Linked DNA regions of Homo sapiens: regions 1, 2, 3, 4, 6 and 7 are each linked to region 5. The links are contacts of gene promoters, found by promoter capture Hi-C in blood cells and fetal thymus (Javierre and others, 2016). All regions are on one chromosome and are shown on one strand. The core of a region is centred on a gene start or on the middle of the fragment in contact, and the rest is flanking DNA. Distances in the headings are between cores, read along the strand shown. Region 1 has its middle 110 kb from the start of LINC02694. Region 2 has its middle 180 kb from the start of LINC02694. Region 3 overlaps LINC02694 (long intergenic non-protein coding RNA 2694). Region 4 has its middle 160 kb from the start of LINC02694. Region 5 holds the start of THBS1 (thrombospondin 1). Region 6 has its middle 31 kb from the start of LINC02694. Region 7 has its middle 130 kb from the start of LINC02694.

What was found. The method cuts DNA at HindIII sites, captures the fragments that hold promoters and counts their contacts. A CHiCAGO score of 5 or more calls a contact.
Region 1: a fragment that was not itself captured here is called in contact with the fragment with the promoter of THBS1 in region 5 in 7 of 17 cell types (M2 macrophages, erythroblasts, naive CD8 T cells and 4 more); the score reaches 11.3 in M2 macrophages.
Region 2: a contact is called between a fragment that was not itself captured here and the fragment with the promoter of THBS1 in region 5, in 1 of 17 cell types (endothelial precursors). The highest score is 5.5, in endothelial precursors.
Region 3: a contact is called between a fragment that was not itself captured here and the fragment with the promoter of THBS1 in region 5, in 3 of 17 cell types (megakaryocytes, endothelial precursors and total CD8 T cells). The highest score is 9.2, in megakaryocytes.
Region 4: a fragment that was not itself captured here is called in contact with the fragment with the promoter of THBS1 in region 5 in 1 of 17 cell types (M1 macrophages); the score reaches 5.5 in M1 macrophages.
Region 6: a contact is called between a fragment that was not itself captured here and the fragment with the promoter of THBS1 in region 5, in 2 of 17 cell types (erythroblasts and M1 macrophages). The highest score is 5.1, in erythroblasts.
Region 7: a fragment that was not itself captured here is called in contact with the fragment with the promoter of THBS1 in region 5 in 6 of 17 cell types (endothelial precursors, neutrophils, erythroblasts and 3 more); the score reaches 11.3 in endothelial precursors.

The regions. Positions count from the first base shown.
Region 1 is chr15:38,806,182-38,808,881 of GRCh38, reverse strand. No RefSeq gene overlaps it. Among named protein-coding and RNA genes, the nearest start is that of LINC02694, 110 kb to the right of the region's middle. The HindIII fragment of the contact is 4,397 bases long and covers 1-2,700 here.
Region 2 is chr15:38,876,918-38,879,617 of GRCh38, reverse strand. It overlaps a transcript of LOC105370777 not described here. Among named protein-coding and RNA genes, the nearest start is that of LINC02694, 180 kb to the right of the region's middle. The HindIII fragment of the contact is 4,354 bases long and covers 1-2,700 here.
Region 3 is chr15:38,698,195-38,700,894 of GRCh38, reverse strand. LINC02694 (long intergenic non-protein coding RNA 2694) reads right to left here. Exons shown (of 2, transcript NR_160786.1): 2 at 857-2,700. Among named protein-coding and RNA genes, the nearest start is that of LINC02694, 2.9 kb to the right of the region's middle. The HindIII fragment of the contact is 441 bases long and covers 1,143-1,583 here.
Region 4 is chr15:38,860,247-38,862,946 of GRCh38, reverse strand. No RefSeq gene overlaps it. Among named protein-coding and RNA genes, the nearest start is that of LINC02694, 160 kb to the right of the region's middle. The HindIII fragment of the contact is 2,557 bases long and covers 31-2,587 here.
Region 5 is chr15:39,579,793-39,582,492 of GRCh38, reverse strand. THBS1 (thrombospondin 1) reads right to left here and starts at 1,414. Exons shown (of 22, transcript NM_003246.4): 1 at 1,265-1,414; 2 at 569-664; 3 at 1-300. The coding sequence starts at 635. It overlaps LOC124903470, which reads right to left and starts at 2,686. Exons shown (of 1, transcript XM_047433405.1): 1 at 1,499-2,686. The coding sequence starts at 2,175. The coding sequence ends at 1,741. RefSeq lists silencers at 1,874-1,923, 1,934-2,163 and an enhancer at 1,586-2,323. The HindIII fragment of the contact is 3,699 bases long and covers 1-2,685 here.
Region 6 is chr15:38,726,551-38,729,250 of GRCh38, reverse strand. No RefSeq gene overlaps it. Among named protein-coding and RNA genes, the nearest start is that of LINC02694, 31 kb to the right of the region's middle. The HindIII fragment of the contact is 2,308 bases long and covers 273-2,580 here.
Region 7 is chr15:38,828,719-38,831,418 of GRCh38, reverse strand. No RefSeq gene overlaps it. Among named protein-coding and RNA genes, the nearest start is that of LINC02694, 130 kb to the right of the region's middle. The HindIII fragment of the contact is 921 bases long and covers 833-1,753 here.

The DNA.
Region 1 (2,700 bases), core at 99-2,598, 770 kb after region 5:
ATATGGGTAAAAAGAGAACGAGCTGATCCATAGATTCCAGAAGACAAAGGGGAAATTCACCCGCTAATGGATCAATTCTATATATTTTTATTTCCATCATCACCTCTATGTAGGGTTCACCTGCACATGAGAATCCTAGAGAATTAGTGTTGAAAGGTGCATTGGTCTAATCTCCTCCTTTTATTGAAAAGCTGAAGCCTAGAAAGGTTAAGTGACAAGCCAGCTCCAACGGAATGGTACTGGCTGCTTTGTACATAAGACCATTTTTTGAAGCTGAATCTTGACTAGGAAGAACTTATTCCTTTCTTTCTGTCCTTTCCATCAGCTACTGGCTGCTTCATCCATAAGGAGTCCAATATTTGAAGCTGAATTTCGACCAGGAGAAACTTACTTCTTTCTTTCTGTCATTTTCATCAGCATAGCCACCATCAGCCTTTCATTATGTGCCTGTTTACTTTGTGTTTTACTAAATGCCCTTTATAGACCTTGCAGAAGCTATTTTGGTAGCTTCCTGCGCATAGAAAATGTTTTGTTTAGGCTCTACCTTATGTTCAGAGTGTCTGGGGCCTGTTGAAGTTGATTGAATTAAACAAAAACAGGGGGTCAGATAACAGAAAAGGACAGTTACAGACATGGCTTTAACTCATTCCCCACCACTCCCCTGCATGCCTCTGTCTTTCCTGCCCCACTCCTCTACAGTTAGAACTCCAAAACATCCATTGAAATAGTTCTGGCAGCAGAATTAGAGGAAGTCTATGTACCTTGGAAATGAAGCTCACACTCTAGAGAATGTGATCTCAGATATCAGAGTTTCATCCATTATTGCAGTCTTAAATCAAAGGGCCCTTGGGAAACATCTCTGCCTACCACAAATTATAATATAGCTACAAAAATCTTTTCTGTAATAAGTAATTTTCCATGAAAACAACACTTCTCAGTCTTTCAGGACATAGTTGAAACATGACTTAGATTGAAGTTGTTTTTTATATACATTTTTTAAATGGAAAGAAGACTTCAAAATTCCCTAAGCATCATGCATTTTTAATCTTGCACAGCTTGACTCCTCCATAGAAAACTCATCTTAGGAAAGGGGGCTTATTGCAACAGGCACTTTTTAAACTTTATCCTCAAGAAGGCTAAAGTTGATTTGTGAATTGTTCTCATCTTAGAAGAGTCTTTCGACAGAGAAAAGAAGCCAACCATTACCCATTTTGCCTGGAACCAAGAAAAGCTGCGCTTGAATCCAAACTGAACTGAAGAATTAAGATCAAATATTAGGAAATCTACTTTTGCACCAAGTATACACTGAAATGGATCTCCCATGGTGGAGGACATTAAAAAATATCTTCCTATACTACGTACAATTTAGAGATCTTTAATTTCAACTAGTCCAGATAGAGCACTGCCTAAAGGCAAAGGTATGTGTTAGATATATCCAAAAGTCACTACTAGTCTGCCCTGATCTGAGATAAAAATAGAGATCAAGACCCCCAAGGTAGAAAAAAAGACCTCATTTAAGTAGGATAAAAAAGACCAGTCTTTATCCAGCCAACGAGAAACAAGCTGGGAGAGGCCTGAGTGTGTCTAGACTCTGATGAAAAGGGGTCAGTAGAAGAAGACATGTTATAAATACAAGAAAGAGAGGACACAATTCATAGGACAATGACTGAGGAAGGTGACAATGACTGGAGACAGATGGGGGCATTCACCTTGGAGAGAAAGAGGAAGAACTTACCCAATGTAATAGAAAAAAAGGAGCTTGTAGTTTCCAGCAACAAGAAAATAGGCTTGTAGATTAAGGTCTGGTTTGTAGATTTAGTCACAGAAATTTCGTGGAGTTCACTTCTGATTGTTTCTCTTTCTGAAGTAGGTCATCTGTTGACCTTGGTCAGTAGAACCAGTCAGAGATTGAAGGCAAGTGGGACAGAGTGAAATGGTTGTAAAGAATAGAGGAGCAAGCTGACTGACGAAATACAACAGACCTGCCAATGGTTTTAAATCATGAGTTGACTATTAATTCATAATAATGCTAAAAAGAGCAAATTGATTTCCTCAAGCAGGGAACAGTTCTCTGGTATAAGATGGAAGATTCTATTTAGAATCCACTCAGAGTTAATTGACATTTTCATGACCGCACACATTTATCCATTTCTTCTCACCTATTCGAGAGCAGCATTTCTGTTTCATCGTCGATTATTTCCTCACTACTGGATCTTTCCCATCTGCAGACAATTATGCTTGCATTTATTGCTTTCAATTTTTTTTTTAAAAAAACTCTTTTTATTCTACTACTTTCTAGCTACTGCTCTTTTTCTTTACTTTCCTCTAAAGGCAAACATCCTCAAAAGAATTGTGTATATTCACACTCTATCGCTACCACTTTTCTTGTTCCATCATTTTTTTAATCAACTCCAGTCACCCCCACGACTCCATCTAAAGTGCTCTTATTAATTTCACTAATGACCCACTCATTGCTAAAAATAGCAGTCAGTTCTTAAATCTCATCTTTCTTACTCTCTCAGCAACACTTAACATAGTTGGTCACATGTCCATGTGCTCCTTGAAGCATTTTCTTTACTGGTTTTCCAGGGCCTCACACCATTCTCTTGGTTGTATTCCTGCCCCACTGGCCAATACTTCTCAGAGTTAGTCTTTTATCTCCCTCCTCAAATGGTGGATTTTCCTCAGGGCCCAGCCCCT
Region 2 (2,700 bases), core at 172-2,671, 700 kb after region 5:
TATTGAACTCTAAAGTTCTAAGGGTGCTGTGGTGGAGATATGGACATATCTCAAAATTAGCAGGAAATTTAAATAGCGATTTTAAGAGAAAGTAAGATCTGGTTATGAGAAAGGATGAAGCTACTCTGGGTGAGAGAAAACTGAGAACTATGCCCTAGGAATATCCAACATTTAAAGTGTAAACAAAGAAAGTAAAGACAGAGATGACAACTGAGAAAGAGTGGTAGTCACAGGAGACTCAAGTGAGTGTAGCTGGAAGATGTCATCAGAACCCTAGTTAATAACATGTGGTCTACCATTGCTACAATACAATGCCCTCCAGCCATCTCAGGCAGGTGGGCCTTTACTTTCCTCAAATTACATTCACAGATGAACAACCCATGCTCTATGAAGGAGTCGGGCCTGCATACTATCCTTCCCAATGAGGGAGATGTGACAGTTCAGGATTCAGGAAAGGACCAAATGGACTCACCAGGCAAGTGTGCTTTAGGATGGAGGGCAGGGTTGGCTCTGTGCCAGGAGTGTAGATTTCATCTGTTGGCTGCAAATGTGTGCCAGTTCCCAATGGAATGCTACTGTTCTCTGACCTGCCCTCAACTCATAACACAAGTCACAATTCACTGGAGTTTCACAGTACGTTTCTGTGGATGTTTGGAATCAGAAATGCAGACTCACAGAATAGCTGTATAGGATTTAAAGAGAATCGGCAGAGTTCAGGCTGCTCATTTTACAGAGGAGGAGGCTGAGTCTGAAGACTTACTAATTTGGCCAGGGTTGCATGGCAGTTTAGCAGAGTAGTTAAACAAATGGGCTTGAAACTCAAAGAGTCCCTGAGAATCTTAAATTGTGTGCCTTAGGCAAGTCTGCTAAAACTGCTATGTCTCAGTTAACTCCTCTTAAAACTGAGTAAGAATAACATATATATATATATATCATATATTATGATACATGATATATACATAATTCATGTATTATATCATGATACATGATATATATGTATTATTCATGTATATGATACATGATACATATATCATGTAACCTATGATATATATCATATATGAAGATTATATATATATCTCAGAGGTTATTTGTAAGAGATGAGATAGTGAATTCAAAGCACTTAGCATGACAGCTAGCATATGGTGACACAGCTATCATGCAAAGCCAAGTCTTCTGACTCGTACTTTAGTGCTCTTTCCTCTGAACCATGATCCCTCCTTTAAATAGAGAAGTTAAAAATGAACTTACAGAGACATTCTATGTGTACCAACCCAACACTATAGCACTTGATTTATGCATTCATTTTTATAACAACTATCATTTGAGCATCTATGTACCAGGGTGCTGATGTAACCATGCTGAGTGCTGAGGTACTCATGCTGAATCAGATGTGATCTCTTCCCACTAAGGAGAGAGAAGATTGTGCCTATGGTAGCCAGGAATGAGGTGCACTTGCAAGGAGTAGGGAGGAGTGGGGAGAGTCTAGAGGCAAGGAGATGAGATAGAAAGTTCTTGCCCTAATTTAGGCAAGAGGCAGCAGGGTCCTGAATTACCTTGGAGAAAATGGAAATTAGGGGAAAGGACAAAGAAATGAGGTAGGAACATGAGACTTACCCTTGACACATGATTATTATGTTTATGAAATATTTGTTTTTGTGTTTCTGACAAGCAATTTGCCTCCAGAATTGCCAAATGAGTCTGGTTGTTACTCCAGACTCAAGGTAACATCTGCTTATTGCTAGTGCATAGACCAGGGCAGGTGATGGGCTTTAGGCCTCTTATCTAGCGTCTTACACAAAATTGCAAGTAGACCCAGAATTACTAGTGCCAGGGCTGCAGAAATAGGAACTGTTTAGCCAGGTCTATGACCATCTGTTTTCCCTCCTGCCAAATGCATCGAGGGCATGATAGATCTGGCTTAGATGGTAACAAAGTGAGAGCAGAGTTGAGCAAATAGACAAATGTTTATCTTTTGCAGGAATGTGCACTTGGCTCTGGGGATTGTAGCTGTCCATCAGCATCCACACTGGATGAAACTGCTGAAGGAAGGGGCTCCGAAAACACCCACTTTCCTCAGCCTCTGCGGCCTTAACTCCATGTGCCAGCAGGTCAGGCTAACAGGCTGTGGTGCTAAAGGCATCAGGCAGACATATCTACTGGCCCATTAAGATTCTGTACCTAAACACTACCCACCCCGCCCACCCTGCCCCAGTGATGGCCCTGCCTTTCCTGCCAGGCCTGCTCTCCTCCCCAAGAAAGGGAAAATGGTTAGCAACTTTCAGAAACTAAAACAAACACAAAAGTTTGCCAACATTAAACTCTGCTTCACAGCTAAATGGACCATAAACTTTCAGCACCTTGAACAAAACTTCAATTCAATCCCTTCTACAGGTGCTGTGGGCACAAAGACTGCACAGTGTATTTTTGCCCTGGGAAAGAGTCTCAAATTATTATTTTTGTAAAAAAAAAAAAAAAAAGAAAAGAAAAAGTTGCCTGGAAAAAAGTTTCATTTTGTGCTTAGAAAAACAAGCCAAGAGGCAACGCACACCCCCTTTCTCTCCATTCTCACTTCCCTGCACTCTCACGAGAAGATTCCAGCCCACCTTGAAACCCAGCATGGATACTAGAGAAGACATCTTTTTCTCCAGTTTTCAAATAAGCCTCCAGGATGAGGCACACGCAGACCTTTCCTGCTAGCCT
Region 3 (2,700 bases), core at 114-2,613, 880 kb after region 5:
CTCACCAAAACTGTTGTTGAAATTTAATTGCCGTTGTTACAGTTTTGGGAGATGGGGCCTGTAAGAGGTGATGAGGTCCTGAGGGCTCTGCCTTTGTGAATAGACTCATGCTGTCATCACAGAAGTGAGTGAGCGATCTTGGGAGTCTGGCCCCCTTTTCCTCCCTCCCTCCCTCTCTGTCTCTGTCTCTCTTTCTCACACTCCCTCTCTTGCCCTTCTGCCTCCCTGCCATGGAATGACCCTTCCTGGAGGACAGCACCATGCTCTTGGACTTCCCAGCCTCCAAAACCATACACTAAATAAATTTCTCTTCATTATAAATTACCCACTCTGTAGTATTCTGTTACAGCAACAGGAAACCTACTAAGACAACCTCTTCCAGACACCTGAACTCATTCTTCTCTTCCATTCCCCTAGGCCTTGCACATGCTCTTCCTTAGTCAGGTAGAATTCCCTCCCTGCCCTCTCTCCCTCCTGCCTGACTAAATCTAGTCTTCCTTGACAAGTCTATTCAAATGTCACTGCTCTGCAGAGTTACCAATTCCTCTTTGTTTTCTCCCACTGCATTTCTTCACCTGATTTTAAGTTGCCATGTTGTATTAGAATGAGCTGCTCGGGTATCCACTAAACACTTGGTTGCCTACCAGAACCAGCCCAGCACTAAGTAGATTTGTGTTGGATAAATGAAAATGACCATTCCGCTTTTTGCTGGGCTGTTTGGTTTAGGTGTTTTTGTTGGGCTGTTTGTTAGTTGATTTGTTTTGTCTTTGTAGGACTTCATTTGAATTGAAATTTAGTCAAAGAAAGAAAAATTGTGTTCCAGTTTGGCAAAGGAGTACATGTCTATCTGATTTTTGCTTCATTATTTATTTTGATTTGAAAATATGTCTTTATATTAAACCTCTTTACAATATGGATTTGAAGCAGATAAATTGTTTGGTCTGATTCACATCACAGCTTCTGAGTTAGCTTAGAAGAAAACCATCAACTGATGTTTCCGGTAACCAGCAGCAAGAGAGCTCATGAAAAGGCAGGCACACCTCCAGTGACCACTAGGTGGCAGTTTCACTCTCAATATGACCAGATTGACAATGTCCATCCAAGAAGTCTGGGGCAGGTAAGTTGGAGCACAAGACCAAGCTTAACTAGGCCTGTGGGTGGAAAAATGAAGACCCAAACTCAGCCCTGAAGAAAATGGAGTTATGGAAAAAACAGCACATGGAAAATGTAAAGGAATGCCACTAGACATTATTTCACTGAAAGGTTAGCTAAGTTAACCACAGCCACAAAATCAGTAGAGAAAAGACGTGCCGGACCCGAGACAGGCCAGACAGTGTTGAAAGGCAAAGGAGTCTCCAGTCCACCCTCCATGGCTGGAGCCCAGACCCCTGGGGAAAGGCAGGATGGTTGCAGGCTGGTCATTGCTGAGCCCCTGGTAATGTGCCGAGTGACCAACTTCAGGTGTCTCTCCGCCAAGACTGCTTGGTTCTCCTCTTCTGAGTGACCCCAGAAGGAACCCCTGAGAGACACTGCTTAGTCTTTCTAGTTCCCATTCCAAAGTTGGATAAGGGACTTTTCAAGCTTAAAGTGGGAACGAGGGGCAGGGCTTATCTCCACAGGAAGCCAAGGTGGCTCCTATCATAGCAAATCAAGATACTTCATGGGTACACCCACAACAGGCCAGCCAGGGCCCCTGAGGAAATTATGTGGACTATTAACCTTAAGGAGGCTGCAGGCCAAAAGCATCAACCGACTTCTATCAGGAGTGTATTTTTTTTTTTATGATGCAGAATAGGGAATAGGGAAACTATCCTGGAATAGGGAAACTGAGGCCCAGAGCAAGCCAGGGATGAAACAATTCCATCCCCCGTGACTGAGAAGAGAGCCTTCAGGTAGGCTTGAGGAAACAAAAGCCCTGAGGAAGCTGTCTTGGCAATGTCCAGGTTATTACACTATAACATCCACTCATACGTTTGTGGTAGGGCTTCAACTTTTACACACGAATAACCTGAGTGATCGAATTACCTGTTCTCTTCTCTTTCTCTGCTACCAACCCCAGAAAGACTGCAAAGAATAGACACTTGAGTCTAAACCAAACTGCTAGGCTCAAAGAACACTGCACCAGCTATGAGGTAATAACCACCATGGGTTACAGGATCTGTGAACGGGATAAGCTCCTTTACTTCCCCCCGGCTGGAGTGTGAGTTATAAAACAGACTAACAAGGAGAGGGAGAGACAAGTTTTCAGGAAGAGCTGGTAAGAAGGCACCTGCAGCTTCTCCCCAACATCTTACACACCACACCGACATCAACCTCCTAGTTTGACATCCCTGTAACTAGGCCTTGACATCAAGGCCTAGTTTGGGTGGGGAAAGTAACCCCCAGAGGATCTGAGAGGAGAGATTGGCATGCTCTCCTCCTGGTGGACTTTCCCAAGTAGCAGCCCCCACAGACACATCTGTCACTGGGTCGCAGGAAGACAGGAAGTGGTGAACGGCGGGGCACAGTTAGGTAGGAGGGGCTGGAAGCCACTTCTGGGCTTCTCTTGGAGTCAAACTTTGTAATGCAGGAGATCCATGCATTTCCTTGGACCCAGCATTGTCTGAAGACATGAGCTGGAGCTTGTATCAACTTGCCAGCCCCAAAAGGACTCTTGGAGAAGAGAAGGGAAGCATCTTCTCCCAGATTCCAATCCCTGAG
Region 4 (2,700 bases), core at 60-2,559, 720 kb after region 5:
CCTGTGTGCCCGTGGTCCCCATTCCAAGCTTCCTCCCATGTGCAGGGACACAGGTTACCCATTGCTGGACTGCTCCACATTTAATTACCTAGACAGAGAGCTTGCACATAGAAAGTGTTCTATAAATGTTATTTATTCCATCTAAACTTCCCACTAGCAAAGTAACCACAAAGACAGGAACTTGCCTTAGTTGTTCAGATGTGGCCCTATCATGAGATCTATGGTTAGCCCATAGTAGCCAATGAAAAAGAATGGCTTTTGAGTGAATGAATCACTGAAGATTCATTCTAGCCTTTATTTCAAGAAGATGTGGGAATGTAATCCTTTGCTGTTCAGCAAAAATGCTAAACTAGAACCAGGAACTACAGACTTGGAGTGCCTCTTTTTATTTAAGAGACTCTTGGGAGACACCACCTTATGTACCCCCACAAGCTAGATGTTCTTCCTATTCCAAATAAACTACAAGGATGAATACTGTACCATCTTACTCAAAGCCAAAACAGCCCTGGAAATATGTTTTCCAGTCTAGTTAATCAGAAAAAGGAAGGGTGTACATAGTCATGTGGAGTGTTTCAAGCAGATAATTACTCTTCTATGCATTTTCTCAATGCCAACGTGTACCAAAATGACAGTTATTTCCTTTGCCCAGAAACTCCAGTTCTGAAATATTTCACATAACAGAGCATTCCTCCCCATCTCATCTCTCCCTACCAACTGTCTGAAGTTCTTTGACAATGAGATCTTAGCTGGAGCCTTGCAATGGAAGAGTGCTTGTTCACTGATATATCAATTTGGTTACTTTGAAGACATTTAAATAGAAATTTTGATGTACCAGATATTTCTCTACAGAATTAAGAGAAAGTTGAGAAAAGTTTCAATATGATAGGGAATAATGGAGTAGACTGGTTTTTATAGATAAGCCTAATCCTTCTTCATCCATATGTAATTCCCAGTTCATTACCTTCCCAGGCTCATCAACCTGCGTTCTACCAGTAAATGCATGCACTGAGGAGCTTAACTATCTGTCTGCCTTGGGTATGAATTGGCCACAGATACACGGGAATACGTATGATGTAAAGACAATGCTGAATTACCATGATATTCATATAGCAGACATGTTCACAGGTATTAGTAAGAAGGTAATAAAAAATAGAAGATAGTTTATTATGTTCCAAGAAGGGTGCTAGATAATTTATATATAATAGTCTTATCTCACTTACATTTTAATCATATAAAGGTGGCATTCCTATTTTAGAAATTAGAAATTGAAAAGGGCTCAGAAAAAAAAGTTCCCTGTTTAATATCCCACAGGATTTGAGCTTTAGGATCTTTGCTTTGAAGAAAGGAAATTTGTGATACTAGTAGATTAATTTCTACTTCCACTGTACCCATAAAGGCATGATAGCAAGAGTGAATTGTGCTTTAATTTTTTGTCTTTATGTCTACTCCATAACCAGGTTTATCCCCTTTCCTGCTTTATTTTTCTTCATAGCACTGAGTCAGTTGGGGTTAAACCAGAGAACCAGAACCAATAAAGGATGACATGAAGTTTGCTGCAAGAGATTGGCTTAGGCAATTGTGGCAGCTGCATAAATAAGTCCAAAATCCATAGGTCAGGCCAACCATAAGGGCAGGCTGGAACTCCTGGGCATGGGCTGAATCTGTTGTCTTACACATGAATTTCTCCTCTAAGAGGAGCCTCAGTCCTGCTTTTAAGGCCTTTCAAGCTGACTGAATCAGACTCACTCAGATTCTCCAGGATAATCTCTCTTAAAATCAAGTGATCATGGACTTAAATTACATCTATAAAATACCTTCACAGCAACATCTAGATTTGTGTTGGATTGGATAATTAAAGGCTATAGTCTGTTCAAATTGACACATCAGAAAGACCACCATAACCTGATATATCTTACTCATTTATATTTATTGTTTATCATTTCTCTTCCCACACTAGAATGTAAGCTCTATGAGAAAATCAACTTTTTGGGTTTTGTTTACTGCTGTATTCCTCAGCAGCTAGAACACCATCTGGCATGTGGTAAGCAGCTGATAACTGTGAAATGAATAAAGAATTGAATAAATGAACAGCTTTCTTGCCAGGAAGGGCCTCCCCTCTCCATATTGGGTCAAACACCCAGCACAATTCCCAGAACAGAACAGGTAGTCAGAATTGTTTTCAATTAATTAAAACCAGCTGGTGACCCACATGCTTTCTATAGAATTCCACATCTCAGGAATGGCTGGTGTGGTGGAGACAATGGGCATAGAGGGCCAGTTTTACTCACCTGATATTACCAAGGTGAAGAGGAAAGGCTGTGGGCACCATCAACACCCCTGCTGGGGATTGTGGGAACTTGGGATAGGAAGAGATGCAAACACCATTGGCAGTTGTTTGGAGTGATTTCAGGAACAGTTCAATATAGCATTGGCTGAAAGGAAGTGGGAAAGATCACAGAGTGTGTGCCGCTTCTGCTTCTGTTTCTGGGTGACTGCATAACAGGAAAGTAACTGTCTTGCACAATCAACCCAGATGATCCAGAAACAACGGGAAAAATGTTCATGAGCCCCTGAGGTGAAGCAAGCTTCATTTTCTATGACCCCTGAAGGAAATGGGCATCTGATATAATTGGGTTCTTTCTTTTGGAGGCCCAAGGCTGTGAGACTCCTTTTCCTAACCGCGGTGGGGTATTTTGATTT
Region 5 (2,700 bases), core at 165-2,664:
CATTGGACACCACGCTGAAGACCTGGCCAGAGTGGTCTTTCCGCTCCAGGGCCAGCAGCGTGCCCCGGGTCTTCTTCATCTGCCTCAGGGATGCCAGAAGGAGGAAACCCTTTTCTGCCCGCACAGCATCCACCAGGTCTTGGAACTTGTCATCAGGCACAGGGGGGATCAGGTTGGCATCCTCGATGCGGAAAGCTGGGCTGGAAGGGTCGGGGCCCTTCACCAGTCGGCGCCCAGACCCCTTGCGGGCGGCCCCGGTGAGTTCAAAGATGTCAAACACGCTGTTGTCTCCGCCAGACTCTGTTAGACAGGAGAGAACACAAAGTGAGCTTTCTAGGCTGGGACCAGCAGTAGGGGGCTGAGTCCTTAGGGGTGGAGACAAAGGGTTGGGGTGAAAACTCCTGGCAACCACTGAAAGAGGTGAATAAATACCAGGATCAGAGTGAAGCTGCGTCCTGATGTCCAGTCAGGCTCAAGAGGGAGAGGACAGCACGTGAGGGGGCACACCTGGGATAGCCAGCACCTCTTCCTTGTCCCTCCTTCCCCTAAAGGTGCCACACAAACTCACCTGGAATGCGGTTGGTGCCACACACATGCATCAGGAACAGGACGCCTAGTCCCCAGGCCAGCCCCATGGTGGAGCTGTTGGTGCCCAGCAGGGATCCTGTAGCAGGAAGCACAAGAGCCGAGGGTCAGAGATCAGCTAGGCAGGGAGGGACGGTGCGCAGAAACGGGGCTGGGCATGGGGACAGGGCCGGGACCATCCCTCTTTGACCCCGCGTTTGCTGAAATGAAGGACAACAGGATTACTTTCCAGAGAGCATGAGAGAGAGAGAGAGAGAGAGAGAGAGAGGTGGAGGAAAGAGATGCTGGTTTTAAAGTGTGGGGGGCGCAAGACCAACAATTTGGGGGCTTTTGGGAAGTCGAAGGTGAGCAAGATCAGGAACTGTAGTTTGGGGTTGCAGGGAGGGCAGGGGAAGTACAGACTCTTCCCTGGAGTGCTGATACAAAGGCTTAAGGAGGACTTCAGAGAGTAAGGAAATCTTGGGGTGTCCTGATGAGTTGGTTTGTGAACCTCAAGGCTGGAGAGGATGGCTCTGGAGCCTTGCCCTGAAGAGTCCTCCAGCGGCTGAGAGGAGCGGGCTGGGGTAGGCGAGCGGGGAGAGTGTAGGTTCCGGGGTCCACCAGAGGGACTGAAGCCTCAGCGCTCCAGGTGGATGTCCCGGGCAGCTTTGGTCCTCGGCGGCCGCCGGGGGCGACTTACCTGTGTGTACCGGAGCGCGGCGGCCGGGAGCGGTGGCGAGGGCGGCGAGGGCTGGAGGGGCGCGGGGAATGCCTGTGCGTCCGGAGTAGAGGTTGCTCCTGGAGAGCGACAGGAGCCCTGAACTCGCAGGCCAGCTCGGGCGCAGCGGCTGGCAAGGCGGAGGAGCCGCGCGCTTTTAAAGGGGCGCTCGCATTCCTGGGGATTCCTCCGGCCAATGGGCGGCGGCCGGGCAGGAAGCGGGAGGTGGGGGCCAGTCTGGGCTCCTCTCTCCGCCCCCCGCTGCCTGGCGCGCAACTTTCCAGCTAGAAAGTGAAGGGGGCGGGGGTCGGGGCTTGGGAGCACTAGAACTTCTCAGAAAAGTCGGTGCCCGCCCACGCAGCCTTGGCGCGCACGGGCTCGGCGCTCGTACTCTTGCGCCACGCGGGCTCGGGGTGATCAGCAAGCATCCCGAAAAGGGACGGGGCTGGGGAGACCACCTAGGAGGGCCCGCGGGGTGGCGCAGGGGCTTTCGGGCGAGCTGATCTCCCGGAATGCCTGGTTGATGGCGAGAGGTGGATACTAGAGACTGGGCCCGTTTTGTAAAAAGAAAAATGGGCCGACGGGGCGCAGGGGACACCAAGAGAGCCATTCGTTAAAGTACCTGCCCCTCGGGCCCTCGCTGACTCTCCTCCACCGTCCCCGTGGGGTGAGGACACGCGTCCCCCGAGCGCCTGTCCTGAGCTGGCCCCACGCCCGCCCCGGAGGGAGGTGAGCGCGGCGTCGGCGGGGCCGGCAGGTTGGTGCGCCGCGTTCGCCTTCGCTGCCTTCGGGCCCTTTCCTGCCGCGGCTGCCAGGGGGCCCACAGAGACGCCTCTCCCGCTGCCGCGGCGCTCCCTCGGCCGGCCGCTTGGGGGCGGTGTGCGTATTCTCATCAAGGGGCCCGGGGAGGACAGCTGCTTTCTACTCGAATTTTAAGGAAACTTACTCGTATCCAGTTTCCACAAGCCAAATTGAAATTGTGTCTTGAAAAACAGTTTTTGTGCCCACTCGTGCTTCTTAACGTGACTCCTGTTTGGAGAATTTGCAGAACCATCTGGCTCCAGAGTCTTCAGCTATTTACAGAGCAGACCCATAGAGTAATAAATTACTCTCTGCCTATTATTGTATTTCCCTTTTTCCTCCCTAAACGTTCTTTTCATTTTTCGGCTCCTGAACCCGAGGTGTGGGTTACATTTCTGTGGGTGCACACATTGCCATGAGTGCCGCTGCCTAGTGCTTCTGTCATTGAAGTCTGGTCTCCAAGCCACTGTCCCAAGCCAGCATGACTCTAGCTTCCTGGAATTCCATTCATCTCTTCGGGATGGGACGTCAGCCGCCTCGCTCCCTCTGCTGTGATCCAGCGCTATCGGGCTCGCTCCGAGGCCAGGGCATAGGTAGAAGCTTGACCAAATAAGGAT
Region 6 (2,700 bases), core at 177-2,676, 850 kb after region 5:
ATATGGCAGGCAGCATAAGATATTTGTAGAAAAGAGGTAGCAGGGTAAGTGGGGGAGGGAATGATTGAGGTATGGGTTGGAAAGCGGGTAACGCAATTTTTTATGGCCAGGAAGACCCCTTTAATAAGGTGATTTTTGAGTTCCTGAAGGAAATGATAACTTCTAATGCCCTGGTAGCCCTACATTTTGGGCTTAAAGAAAGAAAAATAGGCAGATACAAATTAGACTATGTATATGAGAGATAAAAGAGGAAGAGCGGGATATGGGAAGCTTGATTAGATGTGCATCTCCAGGTGTTTTCCCTCCTTAAATGCGTTTCCTTATACATATATGACTAAAAGGACTTTATAGGGATGGTGGGGAGGAAAGACAGAGATACACAGTATCTGTGCCTCTGCAACTTAAATTAGTTCATCAGTAAATTGACTCTAACCTAAGTTCCTTTATCCTTTGATCTGACTTAAAGTAAAAAGACCTCAAAACTGGCTATGAAAATTTGCAGAATTCCAGACTTACAGGCGAAGAAAATTACATGAAAGCAACCTCCTCCACTCCCACCCTGGCTCTGGCCCAGTTCTAAGACCCACCTTGTGCAAGGCTGGCCCCATCTCCTCACCAGTCAATCCCTCAGAAACTTAGCCTCAGCCAACTGTGGCTTCAGCCACTCCATGTTTGTTTTTTCTAAGAGAGGTGTTGGGGAAAGGCAAATCACCCACTTCCAAAGCCAGAATACAGTGCTGTAGGCCACCCTCTTCTAATAACCATTTGATGACGTTCACCTAATGGCAAGAGTTTTTGCAAAGCCTTCTCTACTTATGTTTCTTCCTAGAAATAAAACAAGTGTGTAAATGCTATTGCTGTGCTCTTACAAAGCTACGATTTGTCGCCTTCCTTCTCAATTGTTGTCAATTCAATCTGTCAAGAACCTGTGCCTAAAAGGTTTGCTACCTGGTCAAGGAAATAACCCAATAGGAATAAAACCATTTTAGGGGAGTGAGTGTAAGGCCGTAGGATCCCAGTGCGAAGGCCATCCACGTGGGCTGAAATAACCAGTGGGTGCTTCATAATGGGGATAATATGGGATTTGGAGCATGAAAGGTGAAATGTGGCTGAGAGTATTTTCATCAGAAAAAAATTACATATACAGGTAGGGAAGTATTTGTGGTTTGTGCGGGGGTAAGGAGACTGACCTCCCTGGATGCCCGAGTTTTGCTTTGAAGGAAACCCAGGTAGTATGTCTGGAAACCCCACCCAAGGATCTGTATGCCTCACAGAGACCTTTCCTTGTGGAGAAAATAACTCATGTGGCCCTCTGCTCATCACTGCCAACATCATAAAGCAATCAAAGACAGAAACTAGGAGAAAACAGCTCATTTCCTTATCCTTTGCAGAAAGCACGAGTTTTCCAAGGGCAATTTTGTAAATTAAGAATTTTCCTGTGTTAAGGGGTAGGCAAGTTTCTTTAATAAACAAAAGGCCTCCAAGTTGAAGGAAATAATCACATAGTCATGCACTTAAAGAGGTCATATCCAATTCCACAGTGTTCCGTGGCATCCTTCATGGATCAGAATGGAAAAGCAGACTTCTTCTAACGGCCACAGCCGCATGTTACCTGTCTCCAATGAAAACGGCCCTAAACTGCCAAGAACTTAAGCCAAGACAGACCATAAATGGTACATTTCTCTTTCAAGGTGATGCAGTATGTACAAAGCTGTTCTGTCTGAGATTTGTGAAGCTGCTTGTGCACGAGGTGGATTGTGAATTTGACTGGCAGCCAATTGTAAGCCAGCAGTGCTGAAAACCCATTCTGTATGTCCATGCCAACATGTATGCATGGCATCATTGTGGACAAAGCTGGTAATCAAGAGCACGCTGTGTGAGGACAACTGCATATGGGATACCCAGCTCCAATACCACCTCCGTCCAAGACTTTTCCAAAGAAAGTTCTCAACATACATTATCACGAGCATGAGAGAGTGCTCTATTTGTGCAGCCTGAAGTTTTCTCTTCCCCATAGGTACAGGGAAGTCTTCTATGGTTAAATATAGTGAATTCCAAGGTTCTCGAAGCCTTAGATTCATTTTTCCTTCATGCAGTAAGAAAGAAGAGCAAACAAAAGGGACAAATCTCCAGGGGCTCTTCCGATCTAGCCCCACCCTACAAAAGAAGGGACAGTATATGCCTGTCACTGTTCCTGTGTCTCAAAAATAAAAAAATTCCCTTTTATCTCCTTCTAAACCTCTATCTCACTACTTCCCAAAGCACATCCTCCTCGGCAAACTAGTCAAATCACACTTCCCAAGATGTGCTAGAGCATTCTGGCCTCTGCACCTTTATGCCTAGCATTCTTTCTGCCCTGGAGTTTCCTTTCCTATTCTCTTTGGTAATCTAAATCAAATTTATCTCAAATGGCTCTTCCATAGAAACTTCCCCAATCACTGCAGTGTAATTGAAAGGTTCCTGTCCCTTAGCTGCCATAGCTTCATTGAGCAGCATTAAGTAGTACCTTTCAGCACCGTGTGTGACATGCCACCTTCTGCGGTCATGAATCTGAGTCAACTCCCTAACTAACCCAAAGCTTATAGAGAGCATGGATCATTTCTAGTTCATTTTTTAAACCCTAAAATCCAAATGTGTGTTTAATCTTTAGATACATACCTATTGGGTCTCCCAGTCAATGTAGATACAATTTAAGGGGCA
Region 7 (2,700 bases), core at 44-2,543, 750 kb after region 5:
TCAATTTACTCCGGTAAAGCTGTTGTTTAGACTTTAATACTAGCCACGTCTATTTCCTGACCACTTCAGTGCTAAAGCCATTAGGTGGGGCTGAGCAAGGTAGGTGTAGTGCCAGCTGGGCTGGGGTGGGTGATAGTTGTGGGGGCTCAGTGAAGGGTGTCAGAATCCCAGCAAAATGAGGCTCCCCCCTTTCTCCTCCACTTTCACCCCTTAGAAGGCACCTGGTCAAGGAAACTGGAATGTGATGAGCAGAGCAAGGGTCCTTCCACATAGAGGCACCTGGGGCAGGTTTCAGAGCCTGATTTTTTTAAATTTTGAAATGCACCTTTATTATTTCACAGTTAAATTCAAATTACTATTAGAATAAAATTCATTCATTCATTCGAATTATCACTTAGTAATATGCAATCTGGGAACCATTGTAGCTACTAGATGAAACTTTTTTTTTTTTTTTTTGAGACGGAGTCTCACTCTGTCACTCAGATTGGAGTGCACTGGTGCAATCTCAGCTCACTGCAACCTCTGCCTCCTGGGTTCAAACAATTCTTCTGCCTCAACCTCCCAAGTAGCTGGGACTACAGGTGCGTGCCACCACACCCAGCTAATTTTTGTATTCTTAGTAGAGACGGGGTTTCACCAATGTAAACACTACTCTTGACCTGACAGGCAGCTTTTCCTTATAATCTGGTGACACCACCCACAACCCCCAGATTGACGAGGGATTGTTTCTTATGGTGTAGAGATAGGAGTTTGAAATAGGGGTTCAAACCCCAGTTATGTCACTAGCTCTGTGACATACACAAGTTTCTTCTCTCTCTGTCTCTGGGAAGCTTCTCACTATGAAATTCTTATTTCACAGAGTTGGAATAAATGAAAGCACTTTATAATCTGCCATTATTTGAACCACTCAACCCAGACATATAGTCTGAAGTAAAAGATGGAAGCCACAGACAATAAGAGTTATATCTGTATGCAAAATGATGGCACTCTGTCAGCTAAAGACCCTGGAGAGAAGACTGAGTTCACACGTAAAGGTTCCTTTTATCTTTAACTGAAAGAGGTAGAATCCAGCACATTTGTGAAGGAGCATGTTTCCTGTTTAGAGTTGCCCTGCCCCAGAGCCACACTCTCCACCTTAGCCCTTTTTTCAGAGGGTAATGGTCAAGAATGAAGGTGCTTGTGCATTAATCCTGACACAACCATTTACTGTCTGGATGACTTAACATCTTTGGGCCTCAGTTTCCTTACCTGGAAAATGATGCTAATTATCCCTACCTCATAGAGTTGTGAGGATTAAAGAAGTTGATGTTTATCAAGTACTTAGAGCAGTCCCTTGCAAATACAAAGTGCTTAAAACACATTGGCCATTATCTTCTCACAGTCAATGTTTCTATAGGAACAAAAAATTGGCTTGTGACCTCAAGGTAATTTGCCATAACATGATACAGACTGCCCCAGCACTCACTGCCAGTGCCAGAGAAGAAGGATGGCCCCATTTGAACTTGGGAAGTGGCTATTCTGAAGAATTAGAATCTCTTGCCCAGAGCATGTGGCTGAGAGGCAGAATGTGAAGCACCTTATTTATTTCATCTGGGCTTTCTCATGTTTACAGGGAGCTGGCATTTCTCTGTCATTCAAAAGAAGGAAAAAAAAAAAAGTCAACGATTGGTCATTCTATTATCAAAGAAGATAACATTTTATCAACTTTTCTTAGATATCTCACATATTCTTCCTTCCAAAAGCACTTGAAGCTTAATTTAGTCAATGACTGGTCAAAGGGAGAAAAGTGACCATTACAATTTGTCATTCACCCAATAATTGTAATCAAAGTAATAACAGCAATAATAGTAATAGTTAACATTTATTATATACATATTGTGGACAACGTTTTATCGTAAGTACTTTACAGAGAATATCTCATCGTAAATCTTCCAAAAACCCTAGGGGATATTATCCCCATTTTACAGAAGGGAAAATAATCCCCAAGTTTCCTAATAACAGGATATCAGGGAGATTTCAATAGAAGAGTCAAGCCAACAAAAACAAATTCAGCAGACAATGGAAATTCTGTTGGGAAATAACACCCCCAGTGGCTCTATCACTCAGCACCAAGAACACCTCCAATGACTGTATGAGTTTCTAGCAACATGGTAACTTTCAGTTCTCGGAAATGTCCAAACAGAGAGCAAGTCATGTGAAAAGATACTTAAGATTGAGCCACTTTCCATTCCTTGAAAATTTAGATCTATGCTTAAAGTTTGCTTCTAGCCTGTCTATATTAGTAGGAGTTGTATTCATCAAGTTGTTTAGAAGTAGTGTTTGTTTAATCAGGGCTTTTTGATGTACAAAGCACTTTTAATTCATTATCTCATCTGATTATTTTCAATGATGGTGACAAATAGAAGTCTTTGTTGCCATTTTATACATAAAATTGAGGCTTAAAATGTCCTCAAGCCCCAGAACTGGATACCAAAACCCTGTCTTCTGCCTCATGTCCCATCTTATGCTTTCATCTTTCAATAAGATGGAGAAGCGAGATTCGTGCACAGGGTAAAATTTTGTTTCAGCACCACACACTAGATACCCAACTAGATCAAAGGATTAATAAGAGCATGTCACCAGCTGGGGATAGATGTATCAAACAGAGATCGTGGGTTAACTGGTATTCAGATTGGGCCAAACACCTTCAAACTTTACTGC